Regions from separate parts of the Homo sapiens genome. Here region 2 is linked to region 1. The links are contacts of gene promoters, found by promoter capture Hi-C in human tissues and cell types (Jung and others, 2019). All regions are on one chromosome and are shown on one strand. The core of a region is centred on a gene start or on the middle of the fragment in contact, and the rest is flanking DNA. Distances in the headings are between cores, read along the strand shown. Region 1 has its middle 20 kb from the start of ZNF174. Region 2 holds the start of MEFV (MEFV innate immunity regulator, pyrin).

Region 1 (7,935 bases), core at 3,260-5,759:
GTACATAATAACTCATCTGAAAAATTCTCTAGAGGGTTTCACTCACAGACTAGGTCAAGCAGAAAAAAGAGTCAGTGAATTTGAAGACCAGCCATTGGAAATTATCCAACCAGAGGGGCAAAAATGAGAAAAAAAGAAAGAGTGAGGATAGATTAAGGTACTTAAGGGACACCATCGAGTAGACTAATGTATGCATTAGTGGATTTTCAGAAGGCAGAGAGAGCAAAACGGACAGAAAGCATATTCAAACAAACAGTGGCTGAAACCCTTCCAAAACTGGGGAATGAAATAGAAATCAAGACCCAAGAAGTCCAAGGGACATGAAATAAGATGAATCCTGCCAGGTGCGGTGGCTCATGCCTGTAATCCCAGCCCTTTGGGAGGCCGAGGCAGGTGGATCACTTGAGGTCAGGAGTTCGAGACCAGCCTGGCCAACATGGTGAAACCCCGTCTCTGCTAAAAATATAAAAATTAGCCGCGCGCGGTGGCATGTGCCTGTAATGCCAGCTACTCAGGAGGCTGAGGCAGGAGAATGGCTTGAACCTGGGAGGTGGAGGTTGCAGTGAGCCTAGATCATGCCATAGCACTCCAGCCTGAGCGACAGAGCGAGACTGTCTCAAAAAAAAAAAAAATAAGATGAATCCAAAGAGATCCACACTGACATACATTACAATCAAATTGTCAAAAGTTAGAGACAGAATTTTGAAAGCAGCCAAGGGAAAAGCAACTTCTGTGTACAAGGGTCCCCTAATAAAACTATTAACAGAGTTTCCAGCATAAACCTTGTGGGCCAGAAAGGAGTGGGACAATAGATACAAAGTGCTGAAAGAAAAAAACTTCCAGTCAAGAATGCTATATCCAACAAACCCATACTTCAAAAATGAGAGGGAAATAAAGACTTTCTCAAACAAAAGCTGAGGGAGATTATCACCACTAGACCTGCCTTATAAGAAATGCTAAAGAGAGTTCTTAAGGTTAAAACAAAAGTATGGAAAACAGTAACAGGAGCACACGAAGTATGAAACTCATTGGCAAAGGTAAATATATAGTCAAAACCAATAGTGTATTACTATAACAGTAGTGGGTAAATCAATTTTAGTTCTCTTATAAAAGTTAAAAGACAAAAGTAGTAAAACAACTATATTATGTTAATTGGTACAATATAAATAGGTGTTAGTGGTGATATCAATAGCATATAAGCCAGGGGAAGAGAGATAAAAGCAAAGTTCTGACATGCAAGGGAAGTTAAGTTGTTATCAGCTTAAAGTAGACTATTATAAGAGATTTTATGTAAACACTTGGTAACTACAAAGAAAATGCCTATAGAATTAAAGAAAAGGAGAAAATAATGAAAACATAGGCCAGGAGTTCGAGACTAGCCTGTCCAACATGGCAAAACCCCATCTCTACTAAAAATAGAAAAATTAGCCAGGTGTGGTGCTGCACACTTGTAATCCCAGCTACTTGGAAGGCTGAGGCAGGAGAATTGCTTGAACCAGAAGGCGAAGGTTGCAGTGAGCCGAGATTGTGCCATTGCCCTCCAGCCTGGGTGACAGAGCAAGACTCCATCTCAAAAAAAAAAAAAAAAAAAAAACAGTGAAATACAAAAGAAAACAGCAAGAGAAAGGGACAGAAGGACTATAAGACTAACAGAAATAAGTAACAAAATATCAATAGTAAATCTTTCCTTATTTTTTATTTTATGTTTTGTTTGTTGTTGTTTTTGTTTTTTGTTTTTGAGACAGAGTCTTGCTCTGTCTCACCCAGCTGGAGTGCAGTGGTGCTATCTTGACTCACTGCAACCTCCACCTCTCGGGCTCAAGCAATTCTCCTGCCTCAGCCTCCCAAGTAGCTGGGATTACAGTGTGTACCACCATACCCAGCTAATTTTTGTACTTTTAGTAGAGACGGGGTTTTGCCATGTTGGCCAGGCTGGTCTCGAACTCCTGACCTCAGGTGATCCGCCTGCCTCAGCCTCCCAAAGTGCTGGGATTGCAAATGTAACCCACTGCACTCAGCCAGCAATGATTTTTTGAATATCACACCAAAAGCTGAGGCAAAAAAAAAAACAAAGCAAGACACAAGAAACAAGTAGGATTACATCAAGCTATAAAACTGCTGCAAAGCAAAGGAGGCAGTCAACAAAATGAAAAGGTAGACTATGGATTAAAAGAAAATACCTGCAAATAATATATCTGATAAAGTCATCAAATATATGAGGAACTCACACAACTCAAAAACAAATTAACCAAATAGCCCAATTAAAAAATGGGCAATGAATTTGAATGGACATTTTTCTAAAGAAAACATAAAATAACCAACACATTGAATGAGGAAAAGCAGGATGGATTCCCTTTGAAAACTGGCACAAGTCAATAATGCCCTCTCTCACCACTTTTATTCAACGTAGTATTGGAAGTCCTGGCCAGAATAATGAGGCAAGAGAAAGAAAGAAAAGGCATCCAAATAGGAAGAAAAGAAGTCAGACTCTCCCTGTTTGCAGATGACATGTTTCTATCTAGGAAACCCCATTGTCTCAGCCCAAAAGTTCCTTCAGCTGATAAACAACTTCAGCAAAGTTTCAGGATACAAAGTCAATGTACAAAAATTACCGGCATTCCTATGCACATACAACAGCCAAGCCGAGAGTCAAATCAGGAAGGCAATCCCATTCACAATTGCCACAAAAAGAATAAAATACCAAGCCGTGCATGGAGGCTCACACCTGTAATCCCAGCAAGATTCCATCTCAAAAAAATAAATAAGTATATAAAATACCTAGGAATACAGCTAACTAGGGAGGTGAAAGATCCCTACAATGAGAATTACAGCACACAGCTGAAATAAATCAGAGATGACACAAATGGAAAAACATCCCATGCTCATGGATTGGAAGAATAAATATCATTAAAATGGACATATTGCCCAAAGCAATTTGTAGATTCAATGCTATTCCTATCAAACTACCAATGACATTCTTCATAGAATTATAAAAAACTATTTTAAAATTCACATGGAACCAGCTGGCTGCGGTGACTCACACCTGTAATCCCAGCACTTTGGGAGGCCGAGATGGGCAGATTACGAGATCAGGAGATTGAGACCATCCTGGCTAACACGGCGAAACCCCATCTTTACTAAAAATACCAAAAAAAAAAAAATTAGCTGGGCATGGTGGCAGGTGCCTGTAGTCCCAGCTACACATGAGGCTGAGGCAGAAGAATGGCATGAACCCGAGAGGCGGAGCTTGCAGTGAGCCAAGATTGCGCCACTGCACTCCAGCCTGGGCAACAGAGCAAGACTCTGTCTCAAAAAAAAAAAAAAAAAATTCACATGGAACCAAAAAGAGCCTGAATAGCCAAGGCAATCCTAAGCAAAAAGAACAAAGTTGGAGGCATCACATTACCTGACTTCAAACTGTCCTACAGGGCTACAGTAACCAAAACAGCATGGTACTGGTACAAAAACAGGCACATAGGCCAATGGAACAGAATAGAGAGACCAGAAATAAGGCCACACTCCTAAGATCATCTGATCTTCAATAAAGCTGACAAAAACAAGCAATGGTGTGTGGGTGGAGGGAATCCCTGTTCAATAAATGGTGCTGGGATAATTGGCTAGCCATATGCAGAAGATTGAAACTGGACCCCTTCTTTACACCATATACAAAAATCAACTCAAGATGGATTAAAGACTTAAATGTAAAATCCAAAGCTATAAAAACCCTAGAAGACAACCGAGGCAATACCGTCTTGGACATAGGATCGAAAATATTTCATGACAAAGACTCCAAAAGCAATTGCAACAAAAGCAAAAATTGAGACATGGGACCTAATTGAACTAAAGAGCTTCCTCTGCACAGCAAAAGAAACTATCAACAGAGTAAACAGACAACCTCCAGAATGGAAGAAAATATTTGCAAATATGCGTCTGACAAAGGTCTAATATCCAGCATCTATAAGGAATGTAAACAAATTTGCAAGAGAAAAACAACCCCATTAAAAAGTAGGCAAAGGACATGAACAGACAATTTTCAAAAGAAGACATACATGCAACCAACAATCATAAGAAAAAAAGCTCAATATCACTAATCATTAAAGAAATGCAAATCAAAACCATAATGAGATACCATCTCACACCAGTGATAATGGCTGTTATTAAAAAGTCAAAAAATATGCTGGCAAGATTGCAGAGAAAAGGGAACACTTATACACTGTTAGTGGGAGTATAAATTTCGCCCAACCATTGTGGAGAGCAGTATGGCGATTCCTCAAAGTGCTAAAAAGAGAACTACAGTTTGACCCCACAATCCCATTACTGGGTATGTACCCAGAGAAATATAAATCATTCTCTTGTAAAGACACATGCACATGAATGTTCACAGCAGCACCATTCACAATAACAAAGACGTGGAATCAAAGGCCCATCAGTGACGACTGGATAAAGAAAACGTACATATACACCATGAAATACCGTGCAGCCATAAAAAAGAATGAGATCATGTCTTTTGCAGGAATATCGATGGAGTTGGAGGCCAGAAACTACTGGCAGGAACAGAAAATACTGCACGGAACTTTCTTTCTTTCTTTCTTTCTTTCTTTCTTTCTTTCTTTCTTTCTTTCTTTCTTTCTTTCTTTCTCTCTCTCTCTCTCTCTCTCTTTCTTTCGTCTCTCTCTCTTTCTGTGTTTCTTTCTTTCTTTTTTTTGATGGAGTCTCACTCTGTCAACCCCTGCTGCAGTGCAGTGGTAGGACCTCAGTTCACTGCAACCTCTGCCTCCCCGGTTCAAGCGATTCTCCTGCCTCAGCCTCCCGAGTAGCTGGGACTACAGGTGCATGCCAGCATGCCCGGCTAATTTTTGTATTTTTAGTAGAGACGGGGTTTTGTCATATTGTCCAGGCTGGTCTCGAACTCCTGACCTCATGATCTGCCCACCTTGGCCTCCCAAAGTGCTGGGATTACAGGCATGAGCCACCGCACCCAGCCTGCATGGAACTTTCAATACTGTTCCACTGACCAGCCATACTCCCATCGCTCTTCCTCTCCTTGGACCTCCCTTTTCCCTGAGACACAAAAATATTGACATTAGACCACTTAATAACTCTACGATGACCTCTAAGTGTTCAAGTGAAAGGAAGAGTCACACATCTCTCACTTTATTTATTTATTTTTGGAGATGGAGTCTCGCTCTGTCGCCCAGGCTGGAGTGCAGTGTCGTGATCTTGGCTCACTACATCCTCTGCCTTCCAGGTTCAAGCGATTCTCCTGCCTCAGCCTCCTGAGTAGCTAGGACTACAGGTGTGCACCACCACTCCTGGCTAATTTTTGTATTATTAGTAGAGATGGGGTTTCACCATGTTGGCCAGGTTGGTCTCCAACTCTTGACCTTGTGATCCACCCACCCCAGCCTCCCAAAGTGCTGAGATTACAGGCATGAACCACCCCTTGGCCCATCTCTCACTTTAAATCAAAAGGTAGAAATGATTAAGCTTAGTGAGAAAGGCATGTCAAAACCTGAGACAGGCCAAAAGCTAGGTTTCTTGTGCCAAATGTTTAACCAAATTGTGAATTCAAAGGAAAAGTTCTTGAAGGAAATTTAAAGTGCTACTCCAGTGAACACATGAATGATAAAAAAGTGAAACAGTCTTTTTGCTGATATGGGGCAAGTTTGAGTGGTGTGGATAGAAGATCAAACCAGCCACAACATTCCCTTAAACTAAAGCCTAATCCAGAGCAAGGCCCAAACTCTCTTCAGTTCTGTGAAGGCTGAGAGAGGTGAAGAAGGTGCAGAAGAAATGTTGGGAAGTAACAAAAGTTGGTTCATGAGGTTTAAGGAGAAAAGCCATCTCCATAATATAAAAGTGCAAGGTGAAGCTTCAAGTGCTGATGGAGAAACTGCAGCATGTTATCCAGAAGATCTAGCTAAGATCATTGATGAAAGTGGCTACAATAAGAACAGATTTTCAATGTAGACAAAACAGCCTGCTATTGGGGAAAGATGCCATCTAAGACTTTTGTAGCTAGAGAGGAGAAGTCAATGCCTGGCTTCAAAGCCTTAAAGGGCAGGCTGACTCTTTTGTTGGGGTGAATGCCGTTGGTGAAGCCAGTTCTCATTTACCATTCTGAAAAATCCTGAAGCCCTTAAGAATTATGTTTATTCTGCCTGTGCTCTATCAGTTGAACAACAAAGACTGGATGACAACCTATGTGTTTACAGCATGGTTTGCTGAATATTTTAAGCCCATTGTTGAGACCTACTGCTCAGAAAAAAAAATATTCCTTTCCAAATATTACAGTTTATTACAATGCACCTGGACAACCAAGAGCTCTGATGGAGATATACAAGGAAGTTAATGTTTTCATGCCTGCTAACACAACATTTATTCTGCAGCCCATGGATCAAAGAGTAATTTCATTCTTCTCTTTATTTCATTTTATTTTTTTGAGATGGGCTCTCACTCCCCCAGACTAGACTGCAGTGGTACAATCATAATTCATTGCAGCCTAGCTCCTGGGCTCAAGTAATCCTCCTGCCTTGGCCTCCCAAGCAGCTGAGACTACAGCATGTGCCACCACACTTGTCCAATTTTTTAAATTTTTCTGTAGGCTGGGTGTGGTGGCTCACGCCTGTAATACCAACACTTTGGGAGGCCAAGGCAGGCAGATCACAAGGTAAGGAGATCAAGACCATCCTGGCTAACACGGTAAAACCCTGTCTTTACTAAAAATACAAAAAATTTGCCGGGCGTGGTGGCATGTGCCTGTAGTCCCAGCTACTCAGGAGGCCGAGGCAGGAGAATTGCTTGAGCCTGGGAGGTGGAGGTTGCCGTGAGCCAAGGTTGCACCACTGAACTCCAGCCTGGTGACACAGCAAGACTCTGTCTCAAAAAAAAATGTTTTTCTCTGTAGCGATGGGGACTTGATATGTTGCCCAGGCTGGTCTTGAACTCCTGGGCTCAAGTGATCCTCCCACCTCAGCCTCCCAAAGTGCTGGGATTACAGGCATGAGACACTGCTCCCAACCATAAGTGTTTGGTTTTGTTTTGTTTTTGCTTTTGTTTTTGTTTTTTTTGAGACAGTCTCACTGTGTTTCCCAGGCTGGAGTGCAGTGGCGTGATCTCAGCTCACTGCAACCTCCAACTCCTGGATTCAAGCGATTCTCCTGCCTCAGCCTCCTGAGTAGCTGGGAGTACAGGAGCACGCCACCACACCCAGCTAATTTTTCTATTTTTGTGGAGATGGGTTTTGCCATGTTGGCCAGGCTTGTCTGGAACTCCTGACCTCAAGTGATCTGGGTGCCTCAGCCTCCCAAATTGCTAGGATTACAGGTATGAGCCATGACACCCAACCATTTTGTTTTTTGAGACAGGGTCTTGCTCTGTCACTCTGGCTGAAGTACAAATGGCACAATCACAACTCACTGCAGCCTCAACCTCCTAGGCTCAAGTGATCCTCCCACCTCAGGCTCCCAAGTAGCTGGGACTACAGGCATGCACCACCATGCCCAGCTAATTTTTTAATTGTTTTGTAGAGTTGGGGTCTTCCCTGTGTTAACTCCTGGGCTCAGAGAGCAGTCCTCCCACCTTGGTCTCCCAGATTGCTGGGATTACAGACATGAGCCACTTGCACAGCCCAAAAGTGTTTTTTTGAGATGGAATCTACTCTTGGTAAAGATGCTGTGAATGTTGTTGAAATGACAATAGGATTTAGAATATTACATAAACTTAGTTAATGAAGGAGCAGCAGGATTTGAGAAGATTTTGAAAGTTCTACTGTGGACAAAATGCTATCACCCTGTATCACATGCTATGGAGAAATCTTTTGTGAAAGGAAGAGTCAACTGATTTGAAAAACTTCATTGTTATTTTAAGAAATTGTCCCTGCCACCCCAACCCTCTGCAGCCACCACACTTATCAGCATTTTGTTTATCTGATGT
Region 2 (7,935 bases), core at 1,484-3,983, 160 kb after region 1:
GCCTTCCAGAAGTCCTGCCTCAGAGCAGCCTCTGTTGCAAAACGTGTCACCGCAATTGCAAAATATCCTGCTTTAGACCAGAAAGTATCATTCCCTGCCCAATTCTGTCATGGGGTTTTGGTATCAGCTCCGAGGAGTTTTCTGACCAGACGAGATGGGATCACACAGCACCCACAGCGTCACTGCACAGTCTCATCCTTTCTCCATCTGGTAGTGGGAGACTGCCTGGGAGGTGCTGGGTTGCCACCGTCCAGAGTCAGGGACGGGTGCTGGCCCCAGTGATACCCCATTCAACACCCTTCTTCTGGCCCAGCCTAAAAATTCCAAAAATCTGCTGTCTGCACCATCAATGTGCATTTCATCCACTTTTTTTTTTTTTTTTTTTTTTTTTTTTTGAGACAGGGTGTCTTGCTGTGTCACCCAGGCTGGAGAGCAGTGGTGCAATCACAGCTCATTGCAGCCTGAACCTAGGCTCAAGCAATCTTCCCACCTCAGCCTCCTGAGTAGCAGCAGGGACCACCAGTGTGTGCCACCACACCCAGCTAATATTTTTTCTATTTTTTGTAGAGGCAGGGTCTCCTTATGTTGCCCAGGCTAATCTCAAACTCTTGGGCTTAAGTAATCCTCCTGTCTCAGCCTCCCAAGGGCTGGGATTGCAGGTGTGAGCCACTACACCCAGCCCAATTCACCCTTTTTTTAGGGAAGATGTTGGGTTTGGGCTCAGAAAGATCTAGCAAACTGCATGTTTGTTGTCAGCTATGAAAACAATGCAAAAACACCAAATACTCTGTGAAATAGGAAACAGGTGGACCAGCTGGACAGTAAGTTAAATTCAACCAACCAGAACTCATCAAAGCCTTGAATCCCAGGCTGGGCACACACAGAGGAGCTCACACCCAGAGCTGGGTGTTCAGCTAGGCGTCGCAATGTTGTGACTGACCTGTGGAAGTGACCCATCCTGGACCTCAGTGGTCAGCTGGAAATGTGACATCCATGGGTAGTCATTAACAGTAAAATCACAAATTATTGTCATGCAGGAGACGATGTTGTGAAGTGGTTTGACGTTTGGATCTTGGCTCTAGGCAAGTCACTAAGCTACAGATTCTTGGCTGCACAGGGGGATGATAAACGCAGCCCTGCAGGGTGCTGCAGAGATTCTAGGAGGAAGTGTTTATAAAGCTAGTGGTGGCTGGTGCCGAGGAAGTGCTGGTGAAGGGTAAATTGCATTATTAACAAAACTTCTGGCCGGGCGCAGTGGCTCACACCTGTAATCCCAGCACTTTGGGAGGCCAAAGCGAGTGGATCGCTTGAGATCAGGAGTTCAAGACCAGCCTGCGCAACATAGTGAGACCCTGTCTCTATAAAAAATACAAAAATTGGCCAGATGTGGTGGAATGCACCTGTAGTCTCAGCTACTTGGGAGGCTGAGGTTGGAGGGTTGCTCAAGCCCAGGAGGCAGAAGTTGCAGTGAGCCAAGATCCCACTACTGCACTCCAGCCTGAGTGACTGAGCAAGACCCTATCTAAAAATAAAAAAATTAGGGTATGCAACGGTCAGAAGTAGGTAAGTGAGGAGTCAGTTCACCCTACATGTAATTTTTCATTTATTTATTTTTTTTGAGACAAAGTCCCGCTCTGTCGCCCAAGCTGGAGTACAATGGCGCAACCTCGGCTCACTGCAACATCTGCCTCCCATGTTCAAGTGATTCTCCTGCCTCAGCCTCCTGAGTAGCTGGGAGTACAGGTGCGTGCCACCATGCCTGGCTAATTTTTGTATTTTTAGTAGAGATGGGGTTTTACTGTGTTGGCCAGGCTGGTCTTGTACTCCCAACCTGAGGTGATCCACCCACCTCGGCCTCCCAAAGTGCTGGGATTACAGGCGTTAGCCACTGTGCCCTGCCCCCAACATGTAACTTCTGTTAGCTTCAAAGCCACCTCTGGGGCCCTGCACCACATATGAGCTGAAGGACACCCGTGCCTTTTCACCCGTGTAGCTCCAGCATCTTGGCACACTGTCTAGAATGTTCAATGAATGTGCACGGAAGAGCATTCTGGCTCCAGGGAGCGAGGACTGAGTCAGCTCTGGGAACAGATGAGTCAGGCTGGTGGTCCAGGCATTGCTTTTCAAGTCCTTCATGTGGCTGGAAGAACCAGTCAACTGGAACCGGATCAACAGGGGTGATGGCATGGCAAGAGTTATCTCCTGGCAGTGCCCTTCTGGCCTCACTTGCCTTCTTGGGCCAGGAAAGGCAAAGCTCACAGGACTGTATTCAGTGCCCACCCCTTCCCCCGTCCTGTGCCATTGGCTCTGGAAGGTCCCTGAAACCCCGAGTCTGGAGGAGAACAGTTGACCAGCAGGGCGGGCCCTCAGCATAGTCCTCTCTGTTCCCACTCACCCGCTCTGCCAGCCCCAGATCCTGGCAGGAAGGAAGATTGGAGGGGGTGTCTGGAATCCAATCCCAGACCTTCCCTTGCAGACTTGCCCATCTGTCTGTGGTCTAGTGTGGAGGCGAGGTCCAGGGTTTGGGAGGGGTGTGGGGGCACATGTCTGCCAAGGCATGGAGCCCTCCCAGCTGGAAAATCCTCTGAACCTGTAAGAAGAGAACACAGCCGGCATGGACACACCCTTACCCTTAGTCTCAGTTCCCACCAAGACACAGAGCATTTCCTGTGCCTTTTCCGCTATTTCACAACCTGCCTTTTCTTGCTCACCAAGGACAGAGGCTTCTTTTCCTACCAGAAGCCAGACAGCTGGCTCGAGCCTCTCCTGCTCAGCACCATGGCTAAGACCCCTAGTGACCATCTGCTGTCCACCCTGGAGGAGCTGGTGCCCTATGACTTCGAGAAGTTCAAGTTCAAGCTGCAGAACACCAGTGTGCAGAAGGAGCACTCCAGGATCCCCCGGAGCCAGATCCAGAGAGCCAGGCCGGTGAAGATGGCCACTCTGCTGGTCACCTACTATGGGGAAGAGTACGCCGTGCAGCTCACCCTGCAGGTCCTGCGGGCCATCAACCAGCGCCTGCTGGCCGAGGAGCTCCACAGGGCAGCCATTCAGGGTAAGCGGGCCCAGGCCTCCTCCTCATCCAGTGCTGAGTGCTGGCTGCTTTGTGGGAAAGGGGACCAGGAGCTCAGAGCAGCTCACTCTGACCTGGGGATTGGGAGTCTCAGGTCTACCAAAATCCAGATGACTTTAGTTCAGGAACGTCCCTTTCTTCACTCTGGCCTTTGGAACTGGGTTAGTAAACTTCCTTCAGGCTCCTAATGGGTTTTTTAAGAAGCAGGTCAGGGTCACGAAAGGCAGGAGCTGGAACACCTGTTCTTTGAGACTTCTTCACTACATTTATGATTAATACTCATGTCAGACAAACATCTCTAGGTTAGCAAAAAGGGATTGCTATGCAATCATATGAACGGGGTTGGTATAGAATCTTCTCAGTGCTGTTCACCATGTTGGCCAGGCTGGTCTCGAACTCCTGACCTCAAGTGATCCTCCCGCCTCAGCCTCCCAAAGTGCTGGGATTTCAGACATAGGCCACCGTGCCCGGCTTATTTTTATTTTTAAAGCGTATAATCTGGGTTTTGCTGACCTGTGTAAGATCTTATTTGAAACAGTTGTCCTGCTTAAAACGTTTGAAAAGTACTATTTGAGAAATATAGGCTAGGCATGGTGGCTCACACTTATAAATAATCTCAGCACTTTGGGAGGCTAAGGTGGGTGGATTGCTAGAGCTCAGGAGTTTGAGACCAGCTTGGGCAACATGGTGAAACCCTGTCTCTACCAAAAATACAAAAAAATGAGCCAGGCGTGGTAGCACACACCTGTATTTTCAGCTATTGAAAAAACAGAAAACAGGCTGAGGTGAGAGGATTGCTTGAGCCTGGGAGGCAGAGGTTGCAGTGAGCTGAGATCACATCAGGGCAACAGAGCAAGATCCTGTCTCAAAAAATAAAATAAGAGAGAGAGAAATACATAGCAACATCAAGCATGTTCTTACTGAATGGTAATTGACTGCCATTGTCTAGTCTAGGAAGTCCTGAACTTTTGTTTTTGAGATGGAGTCTTGCTCTGTCACTCAGGCTGGAGTGCAGTGGCCCGATCTCAGCTCACTGCAACCTCCACATCCCGGGCTCAAGCGATTCTCATGCCTCAGCCTCCCGAGTAGCTGGGACTACAGGTGCGCACCACCGCGTCTGGCTGAGTTTCTTATTTTTAGTAGGAACGGGGTTTTGCCATGTTGGCCAGGCTGGTCTCGAACTCCTGACCTCAAATGATCCTCCCACCTTGGCCTCTGGAGAAGCTGGGATTACAGGCATGCGCCACCACGCTCAGCTTATTTTTGTATTTTTAGTAGAGACGGGGTTTCACCCTGTTGGTCTTGAACTCCTGATCTCAGGTGATCCTCCCGCCTCGGCCTCCCAGAGTGCCGGGAATACAGGCATGAGCCACCGCGCCCGGCCCGTTGTTTTCCTCAATTTCTAAACTTTAATATCCAAGGGGATTCTCTCTCCTCTGCCCTGAATCTTGGGCCCTAAACGTGGGACAGCTTCATCATTTTGCATCTGGTTGTCCTTCCAGAATATTCCACACAAGAAAACGGCACAGATGATTCCGCAGCGTCCAGCTCCCTGGGGGAGAACAAGCCCAGGAGCCTGAAGACTCCAGACCACCCCGAGGGGAACGAGGGGAACGGCCCTCGGCCGTACGGGGGCGGAGCTGCCAGCCTGCGGTGCAGCCAGCCCGAGGCCGGGAGGGGGCTGTCGAGGAAGCCCCTGAGCAAACGCAGAGAGAAGGCCTCGGAGGGCCTGGACGCGCAGGGCAAGCCTCGGACCCGGAGCCCGGCCCTGCCGGGCGGGAGAAGCCCCGGCCCCTGCAGGGCGCTAGAGGGGGGCCAGGCCGAGGTCCGGCTGCGCAGAAACGCCAGCTCCGCGGGGAGGCTGCAGGGGCTGGCGGGGGGCGCCCCGGGGCAGAAGGAGTGCAGGCCCTTCGAAGTGTACCTGCCCTCGGGAAAGATGCGACCTAGAAGCCTTGAGGTCACCATTTCTACAGGGGAGAAGGCGCCCGCAAATCCAGAAATTCTCCTGACTCTAGAGGAAAAGACAGCTGCGAATCTGGACTCGGCAACAGAACCCCGGGCAAGGCCCACTCCGGATGGAGGGGCATCTGCGGACCTGAAGGAAGGCCCTGGAAATCCAGAACATTCGGTCACCGGTAAATTGTGTTCTTTCCTACTTTATATCGGCTGCAGAGAAAGAATGGCTGGCCGGGCACGATAGCTCATGCCTGTAATCCCAGCGCTTTGGGAGGCCAGGGCGGGAGGATTGCTGGAGGCCAAGACTTTGAGACCAGCCTGGTGAATGTAGTGAGACCCCCGCCATCTCTATAAACGAAATTAAAAAAATAAAAACCCAAAGGTTGGGCAGGGCGTGGTAGCTCTCGCCTGTAATCCCAGAGCTTTGAGAGGCCTGCACGGGAGGATCTCTTGACCCCAGGAGTTCCATACTAGCCTAGGCAACACAGTGAGACCCCATCTCTACAAAATACAATAGTGGCACGCGCCTGTAGTCCCAGCTGCTCGGGTTCACTTGAGCAGACGGAGTTCCAGGCTACAGTGAGCTGAGATCATGCCACTGCACACCAGCCTGAGCAACGTAGCCAGACTCCACTTCTACAAAACTAAAAAAAAAATTAGCTGGGTATGGTGGCACACGCCTGTAATTCTAGCCACTCAGGAAGCTGAGGCAGGAGGATTGCTTGAGCCAGGGAGTTCCAGGCTGCAGTGAGCTGAGGATGTGCCACTGCACTCCGGCCTGGGCAACAGAGCAAGACCCTGTCTCTTAAACATTTTGGGGGGAAAAAAAAAGAAAGAAAGAATGTCCGATTGAAAAAGGCAATCAGGTGTTATCAGTGGCCAAAGAATGGAGAAGGGGAGCTCACCTCTGCAGGCGTCTGCTTGCCAGGGATGGGAGGCAGGGCGATTTTAGAGTCCAGGGAGGGGAAGGGAGATAGGTAAGCAGGCCCAGGGCAGGGTTCCATATGTGCAGGCGCTGTCCCCAGCATGCTTCTTCCTACATCGCATGGACACAAAACCCTGGCCATCTTCTTTTAGGGGAGGGACCTTTAGCCTTATAACAATGTGTAAATGATCTTAAGGTAACTGGAAGTCACCTCTTCCAGTTTGCACTGGTTTTGCTCTGATCTTAACTTCCTCTGGTTTTTGGCAAGGGATCAGGAGGCTCCAGGCCATCTGGATTTTTTTAAGCAGCTGTCCCTATAGGTAAAGAGACTAAAAAAAAACTGTAAAAGAAAAATGCCACCAGTTTAGAGGGTACCGAGGCTATCCAGGTGACAATTCCATGCTCGTGGTGGGGGCAGCATTCAGAAACACACTTTCCTTTTTTTTTTTTTTTTTTTTTTTTGAGACAGAGTCTCAGTCTGTCTCCCATGCTGGAGTGCAGTAGTGTGAGCACAGTTTACTGCAGCCTCAACCTCCTAGGCTCAAGCGATCCTCCCACCTCAGCCTTCCAAGTAGCTGAGACTATAGGTGCTCACCACCACACCTGGTTAATTTTTTTTTTTTTTTTTGTATTTTTTGTAGTTACGAGGACTGTCTATGTTGCCCAGGCTGGTTTTGAACTCTTGGGCTCAAGCGATCCCCCGCCTTAGCCTCTAAAAGTGCTAGGATTTCAGGTGTGAGTCACTACACCCAGCCTATGGAACACACTTTCCAATGCATTGTTGGCTGGAGAGGAGAAATCACAGCACTCAAGGAGGAGAAATAGAATTGGGGGTCCAGGCCGGGTGCGGTGGCTCATACCTGTAATCCCAGCACTTTGGGAGGCCAATGGGGGCGGATCACCTGAGGTGAGGAGTTCGAGACCAGCCTGCCAACATGGTGAAACGCCATCTCTACTAAAAATACTAAATTTGCTGGGCGTGGTGGCGGGTGTCCATAATCCCAGCTACTCAGAAGGCTTCGAGGCAGGAGAATTGCTTGAACCGAGGAGGCAGAGGTTGCAGTGAGCCAAGATCATGCCACTGCACTCTAGCCTGGGCGACAAGAGCAAAACTCTGTCTCAAAAAAAAAAAAAAAAAAGAATTGGGAGTCCAGGGACCCCTGAGACCTGGGAGGGGAAAGGATGTGGTATGCTGCATGAGTCTTCAAATCCAGAAGTCCCTGGGTCTTCCAGTGAGAAAGGACCCTGGGATCTGGAAAACCTAGCATCCTTAGGAATAGTGACCTGAAAAGTACTGAAGTATTTCCCCCCTAATTTTCTTTTATCCCTACTGTATTTTTTTTAATTTTTTTTTTTTTTTAGATATGGGGTCTTGCTATGTTGCCCAGGTTGGTCTCGAACTCCTGATCTCAAACAATCCTCCCATCTTTGCCTCCGAAACTGCTGGGATTACAGGTGTGCACCACTGCACCAGGTCCCCACTGTATTTATATCATTGGGATTCCTGGGTGTCTTCTAGGGCCGCTTCGTTAATCTGATGCAGGCTTAGACCCTGAAAAATGCATATATGCACAGCTTCACAAATGTCACATCAAATTTCAGGTAGTTCTTGGACACTCTGAAGACCATCTTTAGAATCCAAGGGGTTTATGGACACCAGGTAGAAAATCTGGGGAAGACTGGTTAAAAATACTCCCTCTCACAATAACCTCACAGCAATGCATCATCATGGGGTTGAGATTCTACCATTTGCCTTTCTCTCAGCAGAAAGAAAAGCCTATTGGCTAAAGTCCTAACTATCTACTGCTGAGGTAGTCATTAAAATTATGTTTGGTTGTGAATAATAGAAACACCCAAATAACAGTAACCTCAACAGAAAAGAAGTTTGTGCCTCCTTCACATAAATGATACACAGGCGGTCCCAGGCAGATCCGTGGGCCAGGACCCTGGGGTCCTGCTGTTGCTCTGTCCCACCAAGTTT

The links. The method cuts DNA at HindIII sites, captures the fragments that hold promoters and counts their contacts. A contact is called where the count stands out against the background at its distance.
Region 2: the fragment with the promoter of MEFV here is called in contact with a fragment that was not itself captured in region 1 in 1 of the 25 tissues and cell types used here (mesenchymal stem cells).

What each region holds. Positions count from the first base shown.
Region 1 is chr16:3,417,302-3,425,236 of GRCh38, reverse strand. No RefSeq gene overlaps it. Among named protein-coding and RNA genes, the nearest start is that of ZNF174, 20 kb to the right of the region's middle. RefSeq lists a silencer at 4,652-4,934. The HindIII fragment of the contact is 7,760 bases long and covers 630-7,935 here.
Region 2 is chr16:3,251,431-3,259,365 of GRCh38, reverse strand. MEFV (MEFV innate immunity regulator, pyrin) reads left to right here and starts at 2,733. Exons shown (of 10, transcript NM_000243.3): 1 at 2,733-3,055; 2 at 4,576-5,208. The coding sequence starts at 2,779. The HindIII fragment of the contact is 7,133 bases long and covers 1-3,947 here.